4 separate regions of the Homo sapiens genome follow, and regions 1, 2 and 3 are each linked to region 4. Evidence: promoter capture Hi-C in 16 types of primary human blood cells and fetal thymus (Javierre and others, 2016). All regions are on one chromosome and are shown on one strand. Each heading gives the region's core, a stretch centred on a gene start or on the middle of the fragment in contact. The rest is flanking DNA. Distances are from core to core; before and after follow the strand shown.

The links. The method cuts DNA at HindIII sites, captures the fragments that hold promoters and counts their contacts. A CHiCAGO score of 5 or more calls a contact.
Region 1: the fragment with the promoter of ZC2HC1C here is called in contact with the fragment with the promoter of NPC2 in region 4 in 4 of 17 cell types (fetal thymus, total CD8 T cells, M2 macrophages and 1 more); the score reaches 7.6 in fetal thymus.
Region 2: a contact is called between the fragment with the promoter of TMED10 here and the fragment with the promoter of NPC2 in region 4, in 1 of 17 cell types (naive CD4 T cells). The highest score is 5.9, in naive CD4 T cells.
Region 3: the fragment with the promoter of MLH3 here is called in contact with the fragment with the promoter of NPC2 in region 4 in 2 of 17 cell types (fetal thymus and non-activated CD4 T cells); the score reaches 6.7 in fetal thymus.

What each region holds. Positions count from the first base shown.
Region 1 is chr14:75,068,202-75,070,901 of GRCh38, reverse strand. It overlaps ZC2HC1C (zinc finger C2HC-type containing 1C), which reads right to left and starts at 1,261. Exons shown (of 3, transcript NM_024643.4): 1 at 1,153-1,261; 2 at 1-347. The coding sequence starts at 328. It also overlaps a transcript of ACYP1 not described here. RefSeq lists enhancers at 515-1,066, 1,067-1,618 and a silencer at 1,243-1,362. The HindIII fragment of the contact is 2,993 bases long and covers 490-2,700 here.
Region 2 is chr14:75,175,138-75,177,895 of GRCh38, reverse strand. It overlaps TMED10 (transmembrane p24 trafficking protein 10), which reads left to right and starts at 1,284. Exons shown (of 5, transcript NM_006827.6): 1 at 1,284-1,541. The coding sequence starts at 1,317. RefSeq lists enhancers at 1,134-1,373, 888-1,460. The HindIII fragment of the contact is 2,239 bases long and covers 1,118-2,758 here.
Region 3 is chr14:75,050,074-75,052,773 of GRCh38, reverse strand. MLH3 (mutL homolog 3) reads left to right here and starts at 1,307. Exons shown (of 13, transcript NM_001040108.2): 1 at 1,307-1,394. RefSeq lists a silencer at 1,505-1,694. The HindIII fragment of the contact is 13,274 bases long and covers 1-2,700 here.
Region 4 is chr14:74,491,980-74,494,808 of GRCh38, reverse strand. It overlaps NPC2 (NPC intracellular cholesterol transporter 2), which reads left to right and starts at 1,504. Exons shown (of 5, transcript NM_006432.5): 1 at 1,504-1,616. The coding sequence starts at 1,535. It overlaps ISCA2 (iron-sulfur cluster assembly 2), which reads right to left and starts at 1,044. Exons shown (of 4, transcript NM_194279.4): 1 at 964-1,044; 2 at 657-759; 3 at 419-534. The coding sequence starts at 1,034. RefSeq lists an enhancer at 962-1,041 and silencers at 1,242-1,521, 1,692-1,751. The HindIII fragment of the contact is 4,485 bases long and covers 1-2,829 here.

The DNA.
Region 1 (2,700 bases), core at 12-2,511, 580 kb before region 4:
AGTAAAACAAACCATTTCCTTGGCCCTGGGAATCACTTTCTGGATCTTGCTGGCTGATTCCAGTACAGTGGGGATAGGAGTAGCTCCGGGCTTTTGTTTGGGTGTTCCATTTGGGGTGAGTATAGACTTTATCCAGAATCAACTCTTTGTTGCTCAAAAGCTGCTTCTGGAAATTGTTCCTCAGGTGCCCCTTCAAGGACTGCTGGGAAGAGTCACCTTGTTCGTAAGAGTCTTGCTTGGCTGAGTGGGGCCCTGGAGCTTCCGTTGTATTATGTGGGAGCATAACGCCCACAGGCAGATGTGACGCCAACCGCTGGAGACCAGCCATTCAGGGCCTGGACTGACGCCTACGGGAGATTTAAACCAGATACACGGGAAGAGTTTGTCTGAGGTTCACTCTCGGCTGCTAAAGCAAACTATTTCTACATTTGCCCTGCCCACATTCCCTTAAACTTTTCTGGGGACAGTGTTGCTGGACCTGCCAAAGCTTCCCTTCAAAAACCATTTGGTGAGTGATTATGCACAAGACACTGTGTTAGGCCCTGAGGGTAGAAAAACGAAGGTGCTACAGGTGTTCCTGCCACCTAGCTTTCCTTTCCTCCAGCACCAGCCTCTGCCACGCACAGTATACTCTATAGTAGGTGGAAAGAGCACCTGACTAGAAAGTCAGGTTCTAGGCCTGTAACAGGACAAGCGACTTCTCCCTTGCTGGCCCCCGTTTCTTCCCCTGTAAACTGAAGGGTTCCCGCAGAGTCCAGCCTCACCATTTTACAGGTGAGAAAGCTGTGGCCCAGAGGTAGTGACTGGCACAAAGAACTCTCAGGGCTTCCCTCCTGCTGGAACCGTGCTTGATTCCAAAGAGCACAAAAGCTGCTAGGGCCTGGAGCAGGTGCCTGGCTGTCAAACCCTCATCCCAGGAGTCCCCGTGGCGCAGACTGTAAAAGTTTTGTAACCTGAGCGTTGAGGGCCACCTGACCTGACCGCGGCCGGTTTTAGATCCTTAAGGCTGAAGTCACGTTTTGTCCCGAAGGGTCAACTGGGGCGCCCCCACTTCGGACTCCACCTCTGGGGACAAGTCCTCTCGCTCTCCTGCCCTTCGGTCCCTTAGGAGGTGGAGGTGCTGATCCCATGTCTCCCCGCCCTTCTGCGTACCTGAGGCCCTCGGGCACCGCTCCTGCTCAGGGAAAACCCCAGGGCCTAGTTTCCCAGACCTGACCTCCCCATCAACCGACAGCCGCGCAGGCGCTCTCAGCTGGCTTCTGTTATTCCCGGTGCCTGGAAACCGAGGCACTGGCGCGCCAAGCTCCGCCCCTCGCCGCGAACTCCTCGGGGAGACGCGCGCAGGCGCAGTGCACCAGCGACCCGGGGCGACCGGGGGTGGGGGTGCGGTCAGCCCAAGGTCACTTGACCCAGTCAGTGTCCGGCCAACTCTGCAGCTCGGTCCAGCCCTGCCCTTGGGGAGCCGGGGAGGGGCGGGAGAGGCTTTTCTGGAGCTCCTTCAAAGAAGAACTTGTACTTTTCTGAGAACGACGCTCCCAGACCTTGGGGTGTGCCCTTGTCTGGCAAAGGGCGGAGGCCCTGGCTGTGCCTCCGCGTGCTTCCGCCGCAGGATGCCGGCGTCCGCCCGCCTGGCGGGAGCGGGGCTGCTGCTGGCCTTTCTCCGCGCGCTCGGCTGCGCTGGGCGGGCCCCAGGTATGGCTGCACGCGCGCGCTCCTTGCTTGTCCTCGCCAAGGCTTTGGAACTTGCTGCCAACGTTTTTGCTACGCAGTATCTTTCCGTGGTAGTTTTTGTGGCCAATCTAATTATTTTGATATTATAATGTTTTACTCACGTGGTAATTCTAGCCGTCTCTACTTAGGGCCCAGGAATGACTCAGCCAAATGTAATGATGATAAAGTTAACTACCAGATCGAAAATAATCAGTATAACCTGGCTTCAACAGTAAATGATACTCTATCTTGTTGACATCAAAAGAAAGTTCATTTTTCTTCTTCGCTTCAGTTCATCTGTGTAAGCCGTTTGGAACAGGCAGTTCGCTTTTTCCCTGTAACTACTCAATTCATGCACATGGAAAATAATGTAGACAGCAGTCATCAGTGTTAATACTTCAACATGTCATATTACAGCTGTTACCCGTTACAAGGAAATTCCTTGGTGGACCCTCCAGATCAGTCTTTTTTTTTTTTTTAATTCCTCGTTTTCATCCCTAGTTGACTCTACCGCCTCTCCGTATATGCAGCTCCAGACGTTTCCCACTCCACTCAGGGTCCCGATTATCAACTCCCACAGCTTCCCTCAGCAGAATTTACCGGCTTTCTTTTTCTCTTTCTCTCTCTCTCTGTCTCTCTCTCTTCTTCCTCCTCTCCCTCTCTCCTCTGTTTCTGTCTCTGTCTGTCTCCCTCTCTCCTCTCTCTCTCTCCTTCCCTCTCCTCTATGAGAAAGAAGGGCGACTTTCCATTGAGTTCCATTGAGTTCTCTTGAATTAGTCCTTTTCAGTACCCTCCGGGAATTGACTCCATCACTTTACCCCTGCATTTTTGTTTTGTTTTGTTTTCTGTTTTGTTGGTTTTTGGGGTTTTTTAAAGTTGTTTGTTTTTTGTTTTTTGAGACGGAATCTCGCCCTGTTTTGTTGCCCAGGCTGAAGTGCAGTGGCGCACTCTTAGCTCACTGCCACCTCTGCCTCCTGGGTTCAAGTGATT
Region 2 (2,758 bases), core at 35-2,534, 680 kb before region 4:
TCCATCTCCCGGGTTCAAGCAATTCTCTGCCTCAGCCTCCTGAGTGGCTGGGATTACAGGCGCCCGCCACCAAGCCCAGCTAATTTTTTTGTATTTTTAGTAGAGACGGGGTTTCACCATCTTGGCCAGGCTGGTCTTGAACTCCTGACCTCGTGATCCACCCGCCTCAGCCTCCCAAAGTGCTGGGATTACAGGTGTGAGCCACCGCGCCTGGCCGTTTATTTTAATATATTCTTCAGCTCTGAATATTTGCTAGTATCCCAGTAATAGTTTGTTAAATCAATAAACGTGTTGACATACATGCATAGCATAATGTCTGGCACACAGTAGGTACTCCATTGAATGAATGCATGAATTATTACCGTGTCAATTTGCTTGTCTATTTGCAAATGTTAATAGTTAATTTGATCCCTAAAGTGTTTGTGAACTTAAAACACACACATACGCACTTTCCCTGACAACGCTTATCTGCTAACCCCTTAATTATGTTCATCTGAGACTGGACCAAAACATGTTGTTTTATTCAATTTAAATACCAAATTCAAATTTATTTTGAATATAGCTTAGAACACATTCAATGTTTGCTAAAATAATAATAATAATAATAATAATAATAATAATAATAATACCATGTACATTCAGTTAGCCAGACAATTACTCCAGCCCAAATACCCTGCTATGGGACATGAACCGGATGTCTGCCCGGCACACATTCATCAGGTGACCCCTAAAACTTCTTCTCTAAGGTCCACACTGTCTAATAGCCAAGTTGAAATCTTTCCTCGAAATTTTCCTCTCTAGTGTCTCAGTGCCCCAGGTGTCATCAAGGTGTCAAAGGCGCTTGGGAGTGCCTGCAAACCGCCCCATCCCCGGAGACACAGCCTCATTCCCCGCCCTCGCGCCTAGGCGGCCGGTGGGCGGGCCCAGCGAAGGGCCTTGTGGCTGTTTCCTATTGGGGCTTGGTTGCTATGGTGTCACTCGCCTTTAAACTCGTGGGTACATCTTTCGGAAATTAAAGGAGAATTACTTCCAGGGCTGCCCATACTTGCCATGGCCGACTCAGTAGTCACTAACTTCAACAAAAATAAAACTGTTGCAATAGTATTCTATTAAAGCTTCTTTAACTGCTTAAACTTGCGGTTTTGACATGGTACCTATCCTTTCTTCCCTTTTCAAAAGATTCGCTATAGAGTCTTTCTCTACATGCCAGTCTCCAAAATGGCGCGGACGGCATCAGAAGGTCAGAGGTGAGTCACGTGGGTCCCCCCGGTTCCGGCGCGGTTGAGGCCTTCGGTGGTGAACGAGTCTCCAGCACCATGTCTGGTTTGTCTGGCCCACCAGCCCGGCGCGGCCCTTTTCCGTTAGCGTTGCTGCTTTTGTTCCTGCTCGGCCCCAGATTGGTCCTTGCCATCTCCTTCCATCTGCCCATTAACTCTCGCAAGTGCCTCCGTGAGGAGATTCACAAGGACCTGCTAGTGACTGGCGCGTACGAGATCTCCGACCAGTCTGGGGGCGCTGGCGGCCTGCGCAGCCACCTCAAGGTGCGGCATTGGGCGACGTGGGGCCGGGAGGGAAGACGGCAGGCTTAGGCGAGGGGAGGCTCGGGTTCGGGGGAGTCGGGCCGGCGGAGGCCTGGGAGTTGTTCTGGCCTCCCGGGAGCGCAAAGGACGTGCGGTGGAGCCCGCCCCCTCACCCCGCTGGTTGCCTGTCGCGGGGCGGGGCGGGTCACCAACGCCTGGGAACCCCAAGAAGGGCTGCGAGGCTTTGGCGGATGTGGTGACACCTGAGCTGGGGCGGTTGTCAACGTCCTATACCAGTTTTGGTCTCAGATACATTGAACCGTAATTTGGTTCTCCAAATAAATGTTGGGGTGTTGAATATTTATACGGATTGGCATCATAAGATACCGCGATACCTGCAGGAAAGTAAAGGAGACAGAGCTAACCGTGATTAATAAAATGTTATTTATTGAGCATCTGCTGTGTCAGTTACTGTGCTACTTTGCATATATTACCATTTGGTTCATGCACTACCCTATGAAGTAGGTAGGTACTGTTAGCCCCATTTTACAAATGAGGAAACTGAGACTCAGAGGTAGGATAAACTAGTAAGTGTCACAGATGGAATAGATTCTTTTTTTTTTTTCAAAATTATTATTATACTTTAAGTTCTAGGGTACATGCGCACAACTTTCAGGTTTGTTACATATGTATACATGTGCCGTGTTGGTGTGCTGCACCCATTAACTCGTCATTTACATTAGGTATGTCTCCTAATGCTATCCCTCCCACCTCCCCCCACCCCACGACAGGCCCCGGTGTGTGATGTTCCCCACCCTGTGTCCAAGTGTTCTCATTGTTCAATTCCCACCTATGAGTGAGAACATGCGGTGTTTGGTTTTCTGTCCTTGCGATGGAATAGATTCTTACTTAGTTTGGTAGTTAAGTATGTTGAGGGAAAAGCGCTGCAACCTTATTCCTTCCTTGTTTTAAATTTGTAATTTCTGTAGTTGATTAAAGTCGATTATTGGTTACAAAATGGTCTCAGTCTCTAGTCCTTTTTCTTTGGTATGCCAGAATCTGGACTTGGCTCTTTTATGTAAATACCAACTATGCTCTTGGATGGTGACAACTACTGCCATAATACCAGTTTGATTCTGTTTTGTAGCTAAGAGTAGCCTGGCCTGGTCTTTGAGACATTAATATAATTTGATATCTGTCAGTATTTGGTTGCATTTTAGGTAATTTTATTCATTCAC
Region 3 (2,700 bases), core at 58-2,557, 560 kb before region 4:
GGCTATAGACACGTGTGCAAAAATCAAAGACCCTGTGAAAATGGCCATCTACAAGCCAAGGAGAGAGGCCTCAGGAGAAATCGTTGCTGCCAACACCTTGATCTCAGACTTCCAGTCTCTAGAACTGAGAGGAAATAGACTTCTGCTGCTTAAGCTACTCAGTCTGAGGTATTTTGTTATGGCAGCCCTAGGTATAGTAATAATCATAAACAGTTATCAGGATTTTGCTTAATCAGCCCTAGAAGACTGGTTGGTTGGGTTTGGTTAGTCACTAAACTAGCATATATCAAATGCTTACCAGGTCTGACAAATTCGTTATAAATTCCACTTTAAATTCTCAATGAAAATGAGATAGAAAGCAAAAACTAAGGACTGGTTAACAATTCCAAAACACTTTATTCTCACAGCATTCTCAGAGTTCTGCTCTCCTTTAGTTATTTTTATAACTAAAAGCTGTGGTGGCACTGGGGAGATTCAAGTCAGTGAAGAGAGTCTTGGTGTTGTCATCTGTAAATTAAGAGTTGAGCAAAGGCCGGGTGCGGTGGCTCACGCCTGTAATCCCAACACTTTGGGAGGCCGAGGCGGGCAGATCACCTGAGGTCCGGAGTTCGAGACCAGCCTGACCAACATGGAGAAACCCCCGTCTCTACTAAAAATACAAAATTAGCCGAGTGTGGTGGCGCATGCCTGTAATCCTAGCTACTCGGGAGGCTGAGGCAGGAGAATCACTTGAACCCTGGAGGCGGAGGTTGCAGTAAGCTGAGATCGCACCACTGAATTCCAGCCTGGGCAACAAGAGCTAAACTCCGTCTCAAAAAAAAAAAAAAAAAAAAAAAGAGTTGAGTTAGACAGTTTCTCAGCCTTTTCCAGCTCCAAATGCCATAATTCTAAGATGGCAGGCTCTGGAATTATTCATTCATTCGGTGCCTACCATAGGCCAGGCACTGTTCTTGGTAACTGGGATACAGCAGTAAACAAAATATATAAACTCCTTACCTTCACATAGCTTACATTCTAGGGAGAGAAGACAATAAGTAAACACATAAAATATATATTGAATTAAACGGTAGTTAAGAGCAAAGGTGAAAATGAGAAAAAAAAGGAAAGGGAAAACACGGGAAAAAAAAATAAAAACAAAAGTAAAAGCTACGACATAGTCTTTAACACCATGCCAAAAGGGAATAAGGATTGAGACTGTAGGTACCGGTTCACTGAACCCTGGGATGCGGATCCTTGGCTGGAACAACTGGTGCGCATGCGCACTGGTGTCTCGCGGCCTGGCGCGCCCCCTCCGAAGCGCATGCTCGTGGGCACGCACGAGCCTCAAGATCCAAGGTGCGCGCGTCGGCGTCCGAGGCGGTTGGTGTCGGAGAATTTGTTAAGCGGGACTCCAGGTGACTCTGGGGGAAGCACGCGACGAAAAGATGATGCCGGGGTCTCTTCTAACACCAGAAGGGCCCTGATGATGGCTGCGCGCAGCTTTCGGAGCCGGATGCGCGAGGGCCCCGGAGGCCCGGCGGCCTGGCGGCCGGGCGGGCCCAGTTTGGGGACAAGGACGGGGCTGGCCAGGGAGGGGCTGGGCCTGGCGGGAAGGCAGCGCTGCCCCGGACTCGGCCCGCGCGGCCCTCCCAGGCCCCCGTGCCCTGGATCCAGGCCCGTGCGTCCCGTCAGTCCCAGGCGCTGGGAGGCGTCATCAGGAAATCATTGGGTTTACATTAATCGGAATACTTGTTAAACGTTTACCCGTCAGTTGCTGCCGGCTGCTTAGTGCATTAGCTTAGAAAGCAGCAGAAATTCTGCAGTTAAGAGCCCTGATTTGTCCCGAGTTTGGAAAACCGGCCCCACCGCCTGCAGGGGCCCACCCACGTGGCTCTCACTGATGGAGAAGAAGGGGAGACCTTTAATGGCACTGGAATCTTAGGGTTTGGTTTTTTTTGTTTTGTTTTTTGTTTTTGTGTTTTCACTTGCAGGAAAACTTAAAATCAAGTTCAGGCAGCCCCATGCCATCATTATTATTACCAAGGTAGTTTATGCCCATCTGTAAAGACCAAAAGAATATTAATAATGACCTTCTGGCCGGGCGCGGTGGTTCACACCTGTAATCCCAGCACTTTGGGAGGCCAAGGCGGGAGGATCACTTGAGTTCAGGAGTTCGAGACCAGGCTGGTTAACATGGTGAAACCCCATCTCTACATAAGAGACAAAAATTAGCCAGGCATGGTGGCGAGCGCCTGTAATCCCAGCTACTCGGGAGGCTAAGGCTGGAGGATTGCTTGAGCCCGGGAGGTGCAGGCTGCAGTGAGCCGAGATTGTGTCATTGCACTCCAGCCTGGGTGACAGAGTGAGACTGTTTCAAAAAAGAATAATAACGACTTTCTAAAAACATCAGAGTAATACATGAACAGGATTTAACAATCAAATGGCAAAGAAAGGTTTATATGAAAAGGAATTTTCCTGCTTTATCTTTTCCCATTCCCAGCCTCTTTCCCTGAGGTGACTATACTTAACCATAATAATAATAACCTCTTAATGCCCCCAATCTCTCTTTGATACAATTTGATTCTTAAAATTTCTTCCTATTGCTTCACCTTATTACAATGTCTTAGCAATTCATTATAAGTATTTTTCTAAAAGTCATGGTTATTGTGTAATGTATAAATGTTATGAAACTAGCTTGGACATTTTTGTCATGAATAATTT
Region 4 (2,829 bases), core at 255-2,754:
AGGCATTAAGGAGTATCGCAAACACAAAAAAGACACCCCCTGAGCCCAGAGGTGCACATCCTCTGTTTTCTAAAGTACAGAGGGAGCTTCCCCATTACCTTTAACAGGTGCTGATTTTCTTTGAGGCAAAATGATTCAATGGAATAAATACTGGGAAACGTGTAGGGACTTAAGCCTGGAATCTAGTCCGGCCTGACTTTCTACCGACTACCCAATGGACCTGGGCAGATCAATTTTGCTCCTATAACTTAGTTACTTTGATTCAGAACAACAAACCTTTACTGCATCCTCACTGTGAGACGGGCGGTGTTAACCATCCCAGGTAAACCCTTTAAATTTGGAATAAAAGTGCACCTTAAACTGGAGACACTTTTGTCCCTCCTGTACCTCCTTTGGGGGCCCACCCCTTCCTCCTTGCCTGTCGTCGGGGTTGATAACTGTATCCAGTGAAAATTTGTATTGGAATCCGGAGCATCCACCTCCCTCCACTTGCAGCCTGAGGAATTCTGACCCTTCGGTGATTTCCAAAAGCCTCTGAAATGCAGGAAGGGGGATCAAGAATAGCGGGAAACGGGAGTTAAAGGGCTGAGTGAAGAGCAGTTCCCGCTGCTCCCGCCAATCGCCTGGGTACCGCCGCTCCGCGTCCGGCCTCCTACCTGGACGCAACTGTCTGTGAGGCGGATCTGCCCTTCGCCGGCCTCGGGGCTGGAGGACGACGCCTCCCGACGCGCCTGGGGTCCCAGGGAGGCCGTGAGGAGCCTGCGCGCAAGGGAGGAGGGTGAGCCCGGGAGCAGAAGGGGCACCTTGCAACCCTCGACCTGGAGCGCCTCACGCTAAACCTGGCGACCCCCACCTGGACGGCCTCCCACCAAACCCTCGCATCCCCCACAGGCCTTAGTTTCCCATTTGTCCTAGAGGCGCAGAACCAAACACCCTTTCCAGGTGCCTTTCTAGTCTTGGTACCTGCCCCTCGGCCAGGGAGTGACCGCTCTCTGCGTCGCGGCCGTTAGGGACGACCCCCAGGCGGCAGCCATCTTCCTCCACAAGCTCCGCCCCTCGCGTCTCCCCCGTTTCTCACCCGGGGCCTCGGGAGGCGGAGAGAACGAACAGGAGGCCGGGACTTCACGGAGGCCCCGCCCCCCCAACATGCCTATTGGGTAGTGCGGGAGGAGAAGGTGTCTGATTGGCTAGGAATGCTCCAGACGGCAGCGGCGGGGACGCACCCAGGAAGCCGGAGAGGTGCTCTAAAGGGAAGGAACGGGGCGGGGAGGAGTGAGGCGGGGCGGGGCGGAGGTGGGTCCGGGCGGGTCAGGCCTCTGAGGGGATGGCATGGGCGGAGACTGCAGGCTTCTGGGCCTGAGAGGGCTGGAGCTGGCTTTCCGGAGCCGGGGGCGGGGCGCGGGCGGGCCTCAGCTGTGGTTACTGGTGACAGGTCGCCTGACTGGGCTCCTCCCCGGGCCCGCCCCGACAGGTTTGTCTTGTGACCGCGGGCGGCCGCTGCTTCTTTCCCGAGCTTGGAACTTCGTTATCCGCGATGCGTTTCCTGGCAGCTACATTCCTGCTCCTGGCGCTCAGCACCGCTGCCCAGGCCGAACCGGTGCAGTTCAAGGACTGCGGTGAGCCCCAGGCCCGCCCAAGGTTCCCGCGCCCTCTGTGGAAGGCCCCGCCGGACCCCCGCGCTGAGACCCCTGGGGCTGGGCTGGGCGGATCCCTCGGGCGGCCAGGCTGAGCCTTGGACCCTACCTAACTGGAATGGGCTGGGTCGGGGGAGAAGGCGCCGGCCTCCATGAAACCCGACCGCGCACAACTTTGTTTCTTTCCTTAGAACGCGTGTTTTGGGGTTCCTGGGAACTCCAGGAGGTGGGCCTTTTGCTGAAGTTTCCTAAAGTTTGTAGGGCGGACAACAGAAGGGCTGTATCCAGCTCTGGTGGAGGGGTGGAGCACAGAACTTCTTTTTATTTATGCTTTGTATCTTGGAATCCCGCCTCCCCCTTCCAACTCCTTTTGCTTTTCTTTTAATTTCGTTTTTGCTGACAAGTCAAAAGTCAATTCCCCTTTTTCATCATTTATTGTTACAAATAGGACTTCCTTTGGGCTTTGGAATCTTGTGATTCTTAATCAGTTTTTCCTTGTATAAATCTCATTGTGTCTCTAATCACAGCTTGTGATACATAACTCCCTCTCGCCGCTGTGGTTGGAATCTTTGTTGGAAAATACAACAGGTGGTAGAAATTCTGAGTGCCTTCATTGAGTCGAGTCTATAGAATTGTCGGAACAGAAACTCGAGCAATGTTGTTCAGAGGTGGAGATAGAGAGATAGAACTGTCAATGAAAGAGGCATGAAACTGACTTTGTAAGATCTATGAGTGGAAAGGAAGCACGGAGATCGTATAATCAATCATTGAATTCCAGGGATGTTGGGTAGCCTACCTAAAGTCACGCAGCAGAATGGGGAGCCAGAGTAAGTGTAACCGCCCAAGGGGTTCACCTTGCGCATTGCCTAGACAGAGCGGATTTATCAAGATGGGATTTGCAGTGGCGAAAAGAGTAATTCACGCAGAGCCGGCTGTGGGGGAGGCCGGAGTTTTATTGTTACTCAGATCAGTCTCCCCGAGCATTCGGGGATCAGAGTTTTTAAGGATAATTTGGCGGGTATGGGCTTGGAAAGTGGGGAGTGCTGATTGGTCAGGTTGAAGATAAAATCATAGGAGAGTCGAAGTGAGTTCTTCTTGCTGACCTCTGGGTGGTGTCATTTGCTGCATCGGAATGCAGGATCTGCAAAATATCTCAAGCACTGACCTTAGGTTTTACAATAGTGATATCATTACC